Regions from separate parts of the Homo sapiens genome. Here region 2 is linked to region 1. The links are contacts of gene promoters, found by promoter capture Hi-C in human tissues and cell types (Jung and others, 2019). All regions are on one chromosome and are shown on one strand. The core of a region is centred on a gene start or on the middle of the fragment in contact, and the rest is flanking DNA. Distances in the headings are between cores, read along the strand shown.

Evidence for each region. The method cuts DNA at HindIII sites, captures the fragments that hold promoters and counts their contacts. A contact is called where the count stands out against the background at its distance.
Region 2: a fragment that was not itself captured here is called in contact with the fragment with the promoter of NXPH1 in region 1 in 1 of the 25 tissues and cell types used here (spleen).

What each region holds. Positions count from the first base shown.
Region 1 is chr7:8,429,263-8,436,121 of GRCh38, reverse strand. It overlaps NXPH1 (neurexophilin 1), which reads right to left and starts at 2,513. Exons shown (of 3, transcript NM_152745.3): 1 at 1,367-2,513; 2 at 355-518. The coding sequence starts at 408. RefSeq lists enhancers at 306-853, 854-1,401, 1,402-1,949. The HindIII fragment of the contact is 8,604 bases long and covers 1-4,548 here.
Region 2 is chr7:10,370,897-10,377,755 of GRCh38, reverse strand. No RefSeq gene overlaps it. Among named protein-coding and RNA genes, the nearest start is that of MGC4859, 410 kb to the left of the region's middle. The HindIII fragment of the contact is 4,586 bases long and covers 252-4,837 here.

The DNA.
Region 1 (6,859 bases), core at 1,264-3,763:
TTTAAACTCTGTGCATGAGCTACTGAGAGTTCCTGCCTTCCACTTCTTCTCGTTGGCCCTCTATCACATAAAGCACCCCATCTCACTACCTCCTTGGGTTTAGGGTGTCTGGGGCGCCCTAGCCCCTTTCAAGAATCACGCGCAGGAGACTGGGGGATTGGAGCAGAAAATGGGGTGGGAACCCCGGAAAATCCGCAGGAATCCAGAGACCAGCTTGCCAAAGTTGCTCCAACACAGCTGCTAGGAAGCTGCTCTCACTGAACTGGCGGCGTAACCCTTCTCCCGCGTGTCCCCAGTTTCCTTGCCTCCCGGCCGGGGTAAAAATGCGAAAGCCCCGAACCTTCCAAGACTTACCAAGTAGACGGTGGGCTGCAGGAGGAAAAGCACGTACCAGCACGCAGCCTGCATTCTCCCGCGTCTCAAACTTCCTTGGCGGTGCCTTCTTTGAGTCTTTGTTCCTTCAGAAACATAGATCCACCTGACATCCACTTTACAGAGCAAGGAGCGCTCTCAGCAGCCTAGATGCAAATAAAATTAGACATCCCATGACTACGCGGGCAAGGTTAGGCTTGACAATCAAGCGGGGAAAGGGGGTCGTAGCGGGGAGTGGGGGACCAAAAAAAAAAGGGAGGGAGGGTACGAAAAATTGAAAAGCGAGTAAATCCAGCGCCTGAGACCAGCAAGCGCGCGGTCCGCAGCTGGGGAGGCGGGCGGGCGGACGAGAGGGAGGGTGAGGGGCTCCTTGCCCCCTGCGCTCCTCGGGTGCGAGTTCCCAGGCGGCGGAGCACACTGAGCCGCGTGCAGGCTGGTTCGGAGCCCAGGCTTCTCCGGCAGCGAGACCTGCCCTTGTGTTGGGTGGCCCGGCGGCTCGGACTAAAGGCGGCGGCTGGTTCTTCGCCAGCCCTGGCAGTGCTCACACACGTACACACCAGCAGAGAGAGATAGAGGGGAAAGATAAAGGGAGAGAGAGAGATTGAGCGAGGGGGGCGCGGTGAGAGGAAGAGGTAGGTAGAACTGACCGCGATTAGGTGCTAGGTACCTCAACACGTTCGGTGAAGTGGGGGTGGGGAAAGAGAATGCAATTTGCATACAGGAAAGCAGGGATCAGTTTACCCATTCGAACCCCTGGCGCACACAGAGATACCCACGAATGCTCACAGTCACATCTCTAGCACTACTTTTTTCGAGCCAAAGGGTACAGCCGGTCGCTAACTTCTAGAGAAGAAGCCTCCTCCGAGCTGTGAGGGTCACCTGCCAGGCTTGTTCTCTTTCCTAACCAGCGCCCCTCCCTGCCGTCCCTTCCTCGTGCCCACCACCCCGCTCCCAGGTGTACCCTCCGGGAACAGCGGAGGCAAAGGGTACGTACCGCACAGGACTTGGGGCGAATCCTGCGAGAAGGGACCGCTCTGGGCAGGCTCCATGGAGAAGCTACTCGGGCCTGGCGTCTCCAGCGCCCCGGACGTGCCCTCCCAGGCGCTCCGTCTCCATGCTCGAGCGCAGACGGGTCCGGCTGCCTCGTCCAGCTTTGGCGGAGTCGCCGTCCCAGTGCCCGGGTCGCGCTCAGGATTGGTTCGCGGGAGCCAAGGCTTGGCACAGTTGGATTCACGGTGCAGGAAACTTAAGAGGCAAGAGAGGGAGGGAGCAGTAGAGGAGGAAAGAGAGGAAGACAGAAAGGGAGGGAGAGCAAGAGGGAGGGAGAGAGGGGAATGCGCCGGGCTGCTGCACCGGACGGACTGGGACTGCCAGCGCTGGCACCCGGACGAACAGTCCAGGACTCTCGGCTTCCCACAGCTGCCTGAGGATGGTGGAAATGACTTAAGGGGAGGAGACTGAGCAAGTCCTCTGGACTTGAAGTGGAGAGATAAGACACTGGCCTTTCGGAAGAAAAGAGAACCACACGGCAGACGAGAGCAGTCCGAGTTTCTGAGGGAGGGGTGGGGTGGCGAGAATCTGGAGCCTGCGGCACACGGAGCAGCTGTACCTCTACCCGCGACGCTGGGAAGCCCAGGAGCCGGTCCCCAGTGGAGTCCCGGGCGCTGTCCCTGGTGCTGCCCGGCCACCCGGGGACGCTCTGGAGCGCTTTGGGTTTCCGGCGGCCGCGGTGGTCGTGGTTTCTCCGCAGAGCCGCGGCTTGGCACGCCTACCTTCCTGACACGGACAATTACTTTGGCACGTGGGTGAATGATTCCTCAAAGACTAATTAGTACCCTGTGTAAACAGATCCGGCTCTCAGGCTCTCGCGGGCTGGGCCCACAGGGACAAGTGGCTCCCGCGGTGTCTTCGGTGGCCGCAGCGCCCCCTTCCCGGGGGGCGTAGGGAAGATCGCAAAGCCCAGGGGAGTGGCGGGAAGAGCAGCCGGGAGTCGCGTAGGGCGGGGAAGGGCGCGGGAGGGTGCAGGGCGCCCCTGCCGGCCTCGAGCGCCGACGCCGGGCGCCTCCGACCTGTGGCTGCCGGGCCGGAGGCGGGGGAGCCGCAGACTGCCAGCCATTCAGCTCGAGACAGCCGAGAGGACTGGGCGACCTTGGCCTCTGGACTCCTCGCCGCCGGCTGGGCTGAGCGTGAAGGGGGAGGAGGAGGACGGGGGATGCTTCGAGCCGTCACCACCTCCCTCGCTACTGACACCTCCCACTCAACCAGCGTCTCCCAGACTCGGCCTCTGTGCTCCGACTCTGGCTGTCTCTGTCTTTCTCAGTCTCTCCCTTACTGTCCCTATTTCTCAGTATCTTTCTCACTCCCTCTCTCTCTCTGTCTCCTTCTTCTGTCATTCTTGTGGTCTGCGTCTCTGTCCCTCAGCATCTTTCTGCCTTTTTCTGCCTTTCTGTGTGTCTCACTCAGGATTTCTGACTCTAGGTCTCTGTATCTCTGTGCCTCTACCGTGTCCCTGCCATTCCCCCTCAAACCCTGTTTTGTTTTTTGTTTTTTTTCCTCCACCCTTCCAGTGCACCACCACCAGAGCAGTTTCACCAGTCTCGGGAGACAGCCAGGACCAGCTTCTTCTGGTGCTGGTGGGGTTGCCAGTGCTCCTTGAGCTTGCCCAAATTCAGGGCACAAATCGGAACCCGGAAGAGGGTATCTCTTCCCCAACCTTGCCCATTGCATCTCCAAGCCTGCCCTTCACCAGAGCCTCTCCTGGGGTGATGCACATATCCATATCAATCTGTAGGAATTGTATGGAAATTTATCTCAGGAACCTGAGTTAGTGACATCAAAATCGAATTGTGATATTTAATGAGTCTGGAATGTCCTTTCCTCAAGTGTGGCTGTGGACACTCTGGCAGGTCTGGGCCTAGATACAATGTACACTCTAGACAATAGGTCCCAGGCTGAATTCCCCTGGATGATGGAGACCACCCCTCAAACAAGGCAGTGACAATCAGCAGAGCCACCCAGTCCTGCAGCAGAGGCAAGAGGAGCCCCACTGAGACCTTCCCCTGGAATCAGATCTCCAAAGACCTCCAAATTAGATCCCCACTGTAGAACATACCTACCAGCACTTTGAGGTCTACACTCTCCCTTCCAGCTAAAAATAACTCTTTAAAGAGCAAGCTCTTCTAATCTTAAAAGTTGTACTCTGCTGCTGTGACCTCCTGGAATTCATTGGGGCATATGCAGAATAAAGCAGTGAAGCACACCTTCTAACTGTGTCTCTGAAAATCCACTTCAGAAAAAACGCACATGTACATATAGCATAATTACAATGTTTTCTTGACTATTTTCACTTACCAGCTATTTCATTTTCTTAAAAACTTTAAACTTTAAAGAAGAAAAATTAAAGTATTGGGGCACCCGTATCTGAGGCCAAATGGTCAAAGCAGGGGCAAAAAAAGCTTTGTCTAATTCCATCCTCTAGGATTCATAAGGCTATCCTAAAATTGATTCCTATTTGTACAGGAGCTCCCAGGCCTCCCAGACTGGAGTGTAGAGCTGGAGCAAATGTTGCCTGCCTCTATCTGGATTCCCAGCTACAATGCTGTCAGAGCTGAACTTCTGTCTGACCTTTGGGAAAATGAGAAAGAATCCGGCTAGCTTTGGAATATACCAAGTTCTTTTCTAAACCTTACTTTAAAAACATTCTGCTTCTAGTGCCATTTAGCCTTAAAAAAATACTGCTTGTGAAATAGAAAGATGATCAGAGACCTTAAAATGTCTGTCTGAATGGGACTGATTATTTAAGAAAAGCACCACAGGCACCTAGTAATGGGAACAGGTTTGACACTTTGTTCTATGACACAGGATGCCAAAGAGCTTTTTCTGTTAATGACCTGAGATCTTCTGCCCAGACATTCAACCTTCGCTGGATCCTATGAGATACTTGGCCTGTGATATAAAACAGTGGCGGATTGTCATTTTTCATATTTCACAGGGGTCTTCATCTCCTATAATACTCAACCAGAAAAGGATACCGAGCCACCAAGTAACACAGAAAAATGTATCGTTTCTGCTAAACCACTCCAGTTTTAATAATATAATATTGGGGGAGAAGTGGACAAGAATGGTTCATTCACCCTCCTTTTTTCCTATCATTTGCTTTATAAAGAACAATGGAGCAATAAAAGCATGATTTTCTTACATTCTTCTGTTTCAAGTAGTATCCTACTCTAAAATGCACTCTTAGAATACATGAACAGTCAGCTTCATTGAGTGAGAACAAAAGTGTGATTACCTTAAGAAGTATAGTGTTTGTACCAATTTTTACTGACTTTACTCATGCTGAAAATTCTTTCAGAAATACTGTTTCCAAACTTTGTGTGCAATGCAACTTAATACAGATATAAACTTAGTATGAATGATAACCACTGTAAAACACAACCCTCTGCATCTGCTTTTCCCCATGTCTACCTGGTCCAACCTGAAATGAACAGTACGAGAAATAATATAGATCTTTGTCTCTAAGAAATATATTTTTAAAGGGTTAAAATGGGCTGCATCAAAAGAAAATAGTGAAATTAACTTTCCTGAAAGTTAAAACCAGAAGAAATTAAACTAGAATCTTCTGACATATACTGATAGTTCTGTTAAATGTAATTATCTATTTTGGTTTGGTTCATTTGTATGATTCTCTTTTTTGGCAGGGGAGAGGGAAGGGAGAGGTTTGAATTATCTTGGGGCTGGAGAGAAGAGAGACATAAAGAGAGAGGCTGAGTTCTACAAAATTTTGTCCTAAAATGAACCTGTCTTAAACACCTTAATATCATCATATTCTACCCAAAATCCAAGTAAAAACAGAGAACTATTGTTACAAAGCATCCAGCTGTGGTCTTGCTTAAGCTTCAGGCCAAATTACATCACTTTGTACATAGTACTGCATTGTACCTATTTTTTTTCCTAATAGTGATAGAAAACTTACAAAGACTGTATCACCCTCCTGCCCTTAATTCAGTATAACCTGGCATTTGCATGTTGTGTAGTCCTGGACAAGTGCCTAAATATTCACCTGGCCTCGGTACCCTCCTCTGTATAATGCAGAAGTAAGGTTACATGATGTTTTAAATGATTTCTAATTCTAAAGTTCCTTTATTTTACCTTTTATGATTAAATGCAGGTTTAAAAAATTTACCTGCTTCCCAAAAAACAATTGTGTACTGCATTATGATTTTCAAAGATATTAACAGTTTGAAAAAACATTCTTTTTTGGTGCATTTCAAAGATTTTTTAGTCAAGTGTGTTTATAGGTTTGAGCCAAAGATTTTTTCTGCATTTCTTCCCTGCTCCACCCTCATAACCTTTCTTCTAGGTCAGAGGTTGACTGTATTGAATTCATCATATTACTTTTTCATGTAAATTGTTCTGTACATGTTTTTAATGTCACTGATTTATGAGAATCTACACTCAAAGTGGCATCCTTATTATACTTATGAATATCGGTTAGAAAAGATCCAAAGCTATTTCCACTACTTTTGCAGAATTCTTTTTTTTTTTTTTTTTTTTTTTTTTGAGACGGAGTCTCGCTCTGTCGCCCAGGCTGGAGTGCAGTGGCGCGATCTGGGCTCACTGCAAGCTCCGCCTTCCAGGTTCATGCCGTTCTCCTGCCTCAGCCTCCCGAGTAACTGGGACTACAGGAGCCCGCCGCCACGCCTGGCTAATTTTTTGTATTTTTAATAGAGACGGGGTTTCACCATATTAGCCAGGATGGTCTCAGTCTCCTGATCTCGTGATCTGCCCCTCTTGGCCTCCCAGTGTGCTGGGATTACAGGCATGAGCCAACGCGCCTGGCCTTTAGCAGAATTCTTAAATGTCACTCAGGACTACTAAAAAAGCCCCTGGCCTCTCCACTCCCCCAACATATTTTGCTAGTGGAAGGAAGGATTATTTGCATAGTGATTTTTACCAGCCTGGAATATTTGGTATTTGAATGTGGTAGAACTCGGTTAATAACTATGAGGCATGTGTGCTAAATTACCTTTACAATAATGCTTTAATAACAAGGTCACTGGACTAGAGAGGAAAAATAGCCGTCAAGCTCTAGAATAAAAAAAAACTAAAGGGAATCAAAAAGCTTTATGTAGAAGGCATTTTCTTTTTTAAAGGTAATTTATATGCTCAGCCTTTGTATCCACATTTCATTTATTCTACTAGGTGAAGACAGAGGGTTCTCAAAGGTAGGGTAGTTTTAGTTATGCTCAAAAACTTTAAAAAGAGGATGAACATAATAAGAGAAATTGAAGGAAGCCAGCATTTAAAAGGCAGTTGAATGTAAAAGATGGAAAGATTGGGGTCATCGCCCGAAAATCATAATTAAAATTTTAAAAAATATTGTGACTAAACAAACCTTTGCATTATAATCTCATTACAGAAATTCTTTATGATGATTCCTCCAGAGATTATTAATTGACAGTTCCCTAAAACAGAATCATTAGAG
Region 2 (6,859 bases), core at 1,295-3,794, 1.9 Mb before region 1:
AGGTTGACTATTCACCCTGATGGTAGTTTCTTTTGCTGTGCAGAAGCTGTTTAGTTTAATTAGATCCCATTTGTCTATTTTGGCTTTTGTTGCCATTGCTTTTGGTGTTTTAGTCACAAACTCTTTGTCCATGCCTATGTCCTGAATGGTATTGCCTAGGTTTTCTTCCAGGGTTTTTATGGTTTTAGTCTAACATTTAAGTCTTTAATCAATCTTGAATTAATTTTTGTATAAGGTGTAAGGAAGGGATCCAGTTTCAGCTTTCTACATATGGCTCGCCAGTTGTCCCAGCACCATTCATTAAATAGGGAATCCTTTCTCCATTTCTTGTTTTTGTCAGGTTTGTCAAAAATCAGATGGTTGTAGATGTGTGGCATTATTTCTGAGGCCTCTGGTCTGTTCCATTGGTCTGTATATTTGTTTTGGTACCAGTACCATGCTGTTTTGGTTACTGTAGCCTTGTAGTATATTTTGAAGTCAGGTAGCATTATGCCTCCAGCTTTGTTCTTTTTGCTTAGGATTGTCTTGGCAATGAGGGCTCCTTTTTGATTCCATATAAACATTAGTTTTTTCCAATTCTGTGAAGAAAGTCATTGGTAGCTTGATGGGGATGGCATTGAATCTATAAATTACTTTGGGCAGTATGGCCATTTTCCAATATTGATTCTTCCTATCTATGAGCATGGAATATTCTTCCATTTGTTTGGGGCCTCTTTTATTTCATTGAGCAGTGGTTTGTTGTTCTCCTTGAAGACGTCCTTCACATCCCTTGTAAGTTGGATTCCTAGGTATCTTATTCTCTTAGTAGCAATTGTGAATGGGAGTTCACTCATGATTTGGCTCTCTGTTTGTCTGTTAATGGGGTATAGGAATCCTTGTGATTTTTGCACATTGATTTTGTATCTTGAGACTTTGCTGAAGTTGCTTATCAGCTTAAGGAGATTTGGGGCTGAGACGATGGGGTTTTCTAAATATATAATCATGTCATTTGCAAACAGGGACAATTTGACTTCCTCATTTCCTAATTGAATACCTTTTATTTCTTTCTCTTGCCTGATTGCCCTGGCCAGAACTTCCAACACTATCTTGAATAGGAGTGGTGAGAGAGGACATCCTTGTCTTTTGCCAGTTTGCAAAGGGAATGCTTCCCGTTATTGCCCATTCAGTATGATAGTGGCTGTGGGTTTGTCGTAAATAGCTCTTATTATTTTGAGATATGTTCCATCAATACCTAGTTTATTGAGAGTTTTTAGCATGAAGGGGTGTTGATTTTTTTTGAAGGCCTTTTCTGCATCTATTGAGATAATCATGTGGTTTTTATCATTGGTTCTGTTTATGTGATGGATTATGTTTATTGATTTGTGCATGTTGAACCAGCTTTGCATCCCAGGGATGAAGCCAACTTGATCGTGGTGGATAAGGTTTTTGATGTGCTGCTGGATTTGGTTTGCCAGTATTTTCTTTAGGATTTTTGCATCGATGTTCATCAGGGATATTGGTCTAAAATTCTCTTTCTCTTTGTTTGTTATTTCTCTGCCAGTCTTTGGTATCAGGATGATGTTGGCCTCATAAAATGAGTTAGGGAGGATTCCCTCTTTTTCTATGGATTGGAATAGTTTCAGAAGGAATGGTACCAGCTCCTCTTTGTACCTCTGGTAGAATTCGGCTATGAATCCATCTGGTCCTGGACTTTTTTTGGTTGGTAGGCTATTGTTGCCTCAATTTTAGAGACTGTTATTGGTCTATTCAGAGATTAAACTTCTTCCTGGTTTAGTCCTGGGAGAGTGTAAGTGTCCAGGAATTTATCCATTTCTTCTAGAATTTTCTAGTTTATTTGTGTAGAGATGTTTATAGTATATTCTAATGATAGTGTGTATTTCTGTGAGATCAGTGGTGATATCCCCTATATCATTTTTTATTGCATCTATTTGATTCTTCTCTCTTTTCTTCTTTATTAGTCTTGCTAGCAGTCTATCAATTTTGTTGATCTTTTCAAAAAACCAGCTCCTGGATTCTTCGATTTTTTGAAGGGTTTTTTGTTTCTCTATCTCTTTCAGTTCTGCTCTGATCTTAGTTATTTCTTGCCTTCTGCTAGCTTTTGAATTTGTTTGCTCCTTCTTCTCTAGTTCTTTTAATTGTGATGTTAGGGTGTCAATTTTAGATCTTTCCTGTTTTCTCTTGTGGGTATTCAGTGCTATTAATTTCCCACTACACACTGCTTTAAATGTGTCCCAGAGATTCTGGTATGTTGTGTCTTTGTTCTCATTGGTTTCAAAGAACATCTCTATTTCTGCCTTCATTTTGTTATTTACCCAGTAGCCATTTGGGAGCAAGTTGTTCAGTTTCCATGTAGTTGTGCAGTTTTGAGTGAGTTTCTTAATCCTCAGTTCTAATTTGATTGTACTGTGGTCTGAGAGACAATTTGTTGTGATTTCTGTTCTTTTACATTTGCTGAGAGGTGCTTTACTTCCAATTATGTGGTCAATTTTACAATTAGCGTGATGTGGTGCTGAGAAGAATGTATATTCTGTTGATTTAGGGTGGAGAGTTCTGTAGATGTCTATTAGGTCTGCTTGGTGCAGAGCTGAATTCAGGTCCTGGATATCTTTGTTAACCTTCTATCTCGTTGATCTGTCTAATATTGACAGTGGGGTGTTAAAGTCTCCCATAATTATTGTGTGGGAGTCTAAGTCTCTTTGTAAGTCTCTAAGAACTTGCTTTATGAATCTGGGTGCTCCTGTATTGGGTGCATATATATTTAGGATAGTTAGTTCTTCTTGCTGAATTGATCCCTTTACCAGTATGTAATGGCCTTCTTTGTCTCTTTTGATCTCTGTTGGTTTAAAGTCTGTTTTATCAGAGACTAGGATGGCAATCCCTGCTTTTTTTTGCTTTCCATTTGCTTGGTAGATCTTCCTCCATCCCTTTATTTTAAGCCTATGTGCGTCTTTGCAAGTGCGCTGGGTCTCCTGAATACAGCACACTGATGGGTCTTGACTCTTTATCCAATTTGCCAGTCTGTGTCTTTTAATTGGGGCATTTTAGCCCATTTCCGTTTAAGGTTAATATTGTTATTTGTGAATGTGATCCTGTCATTATGATATTCGCTGGTTGTTTTGCCCGTTAATTGATGCAGTTTCTTCCTAGCATCTATGGTCTTTACAATTTGGCATGTTTTTGCAGTGGTTGGTACCGGTTGTTTCTTTCCATGTTTAGTGCTTCCTTCAGGAGCTCTTGTAAGGCAGGCCTGGTGATGACAAAATCTCTCAGCTTTTGCTTATCTGTACAGGATTTTATTTCTCCTTCACTTATGAAGCTTAGTTTGGCTGGATATGAAATTCTGGGTTAAAAATTCTTTTCTTTAAGAATGTTGAATATTGGGCCACACTCTCTTCTGGCTTGTAGGGTTTCTGCCAAGAGATCCGCTGTTAGTCTGATGGGCTTCCCTTTGTGGGTAACTTGACATTTCTTGCTGGCTGCCCTTAACATTTTTTCCTTCATTTCAACCTTGGTGAATCTGACAATTATGTGTCTTGAGGTTGCTCTTCTCCAGGAGTATCTTTGTGGTGTTCTCTGTATTTTCTGAATTTGAATGTTGGCATGCCTTGCTAAGTTGGGGAAGTTCTCCTTGGTAATATCCTGCAAAGTGTTTTCCAACTTGGTTCCATTCTCCCCATCACTTTCAGGTACACCAATCAAGCATAGATTTGGTCTTTTCACATAGTCCCATATTTCTTGGAGGCTTTGTTCATTTCTTTTTACTCTTTTTTCTCTATACTTCTCTTCTTGTTTTATTTCATTAATTTGATCTTCAATCACTGATACCTTCTTCCACTTGATCAAATCGGCTACTGAAGCTTGTGCATGCGTCATGAAGTTCTTGTGCTGTGGTTTTCAGCTCCATCAGGTCATTTAAGGTCTTCTCTACACTGTTTATTCTAGTTAGCCATTCATTTAATCTTTTTTTAAAGGTTTTTAGCTTCCTTGTGATGGGTTTTAATATCCTCCTTTATCTTGGAGAAGTTTGTTATTACTGACATTCTGAAGCCTACTTCTGTCAGCTCATCAAAGTCATTCTCTGTCCAGCTTTGTTCCATTGCTGGCGAGGTGCTGTGATCCTTTGGAGGAGAAGAGGCACTCTGATTTTTAGAATTTTCAGCTTTTCTGCTCTGGTTTCTCCCCATCTTTGTTGTTTTATCTGCCTTTGGTCTTAGACGTTGGTGACCTACAGATGGGGTTTTGGTGTAGATGACCTTTTTGTTGATGTTGATGCTATTTCTTTCCGTTTGTTAGTTTTCCTTCTATCAGTCAGGTCCCTCGGCTGCAGGTCTGTTGGATTTTGCTGGAGTTCCACTCTAGACCCTGTTTGCCTGGGTATCACCAGTGGAGGCTGCAGAACAGCAAATATTGCTGTCTGATCTTTCCTCTGGAAGTTTGTCCCGGAGGGGTAGCTGCCTATATGAGGTGTCTGTCGGCCACTACTGGGAGGGTTCTCTCAGTTAGGCTACATGGGGGTCAGGGACCCACTTGAGGAGGCAGTCTCTTCGTTCTCAGAGCTCAAACGTCATGCTGGGAGAACCACTTCTCTCTTCAGAGCCGTCAGACAGGGATGTTTAAGCCTGCAGAAGTTGTCTGCTGCCTTTTGTTCAGCTATGCCCTGCCCTCAGAGGTGGAGTCTAGAGGTAGTAGGCCTTGTTGAGCTGCAGTGGGCTCCACCCAGTTTGAGCTTCCCTGGCTGCTTTGTTTACCTACTCAAATCTCAACAATGGCAGATGCCCCTTCTCCAGCCAGGCTGCCACCTCGCAGATTGATCTCAGACTGCTGCTTTAGCAGTGAGCAAAGCTCTGTGGGCATGGGACCCACCGAGCCAGGCATGGGAGAGAATCACCTTGTCTGCTGGTTGCTGAGACCTTTGGAAAAGCACAGTATTTGAGCAGGGAGTATCCCATTTTTCCAGGTAGTCTGTCACAGCTTCCCTTGGCTAGGAAAGGGAAATCCCTCGACCCCTTGCACTTCCCAGGTGAAGCGACGCCCCTCCCTACTTCAGCTTGCCCTCCTTGGGCTTCACCCACTGTCCAACCAGTCCCAATGAGATGAACCAGGTACCTCAGTTGGAAATGCAGACATCACCCATCTTCTGCGTCAATCATGCTGGGAGCTGCAGACTGGAGCTCTTCCTATTCGGCCATCTTGGATGTTCCCTGTATATACCACATTTTCTTTATCCCCTCAATTGATGGGCATTTAGGCTAGTTCCATATTTTTTCAATTGCAAGTTGTGCTGCTATAAATGTGCATGTGCAAGTGTCTTTTCCTATAATGACTTCTTTTCCTCTGGGTAGATACCCAGTGGTGGGATTGCTGAATCAAATGGTAGTTCTACTTTTACTTCTTTAAGAAATCTTCATACTGTTTTCCATAGTAGTTTTACTAGCTTATAGTCCCACCAACAGTGTAAAAGTGTCTCATTTTTGCCATATCCATGCCAAAATCTATTATTTTTTCATTTTTTAGTTATGGTGATTCTTGCAAGAGTGAGATGGTATCACACATTGTGGTTTTTATTTGGATTTCCCTAATAATTAGTGATGTAGAATGTTTTTCATATGTTTTTGGCCATTTGCATATCTTCTTTTGAGATTGTTTATTCATGTCCTTAGCCCACTTTTTGGTGAGATTTTTTTCCTGCTTATTTGTTTGAGTTTCTTGTAGATTCTGAATATTAGTCCTTTGTCAGATGCATAGTTTGAGAAGATTTTCTCCCACTCTGGGGGTTGTCCGTTTACTCTTCTGATTATTTTTCTTGGTGTGCAGAAGCTTTTTAGTTTAAGTCCCATCTATTTAGCTTTTTTTTGTTGCCTTTGTTTTGGGGTTCTTGATCATGAACTCTTTGCCTAAACCAATGTCTACAAGGGTTTTTTTCAATATTATCTTCTAGAATTTTTATGGTTTTAGGTCTTAGATTTGAGTCTTTGGTCCATGTTGAGTTGATTTTTGTATAAAGTTTGAGATGAGGATCCAGTTTAATTCTTCTACATATGGTTTGCCAATTATCCCAGCACCATTTGTTGAATAGGGTGTCTTTTCCCCACTTGAGGTTTTTGTTTCCTTTGTCTAAGATCAGTTGGCTGTAAGTATTTGACTTCATTTATGGGTTCTCTATCCTGTTCCATTGATCTACGTGCCTGTATTTATAGCAGTACCATGCTGTTTTGGTAACAACAGCCTTGTAGTATAGTTGGAAGTTGGGTAATGTGATGCTTCCAGGGTTGTTCTTTTTACTTAGTCTTGTTTTTGCTATGCGGACTCTTTTTTGTTTGTTTGTTTTATATGAATTTTAGGATTTTTTTTTTTTTTCTAGTTCAGTGAAGAATGATGGCATTTTGATGGGAATTCCATTGAATTTGTAGATTGCTTTTGGCAGTGGGGTCATTTTCACAAGATTGATTCTACCCATTCCTTAGCATGGAATGTGTTTCCATTTGTTTGTGTTGTCTATGATTTCTTTCAGCAGTGTTTTGTACTTTTCCTTGTAGAGGTCTTTCACCTCCTTCATTAAGTATATTCCTAAGTGTGGGGTTTTTTCTTTTGCAGCTGTTGTGAAAGGGGTTGAGTTCTTGATTTGATTTTCAGCTTGGTTGCTGTTGGTGTATAGCAGAACTACTGATTTGTGTCCATCAAATTTGTATTCTGAAACATTGCTGTATTAACTTACCAGTTCTAGGAGCTTTTTGGATGAATCTTCAGGATTTTCTAGGTGTACAATCATATCATCAGCAAACAGTGACAGTTTGGCCCCCTCTTTACTGATTTGGATGCCTTTATTTCTTTCTCTAGTCTGATTGCTTTGGTTAAGACT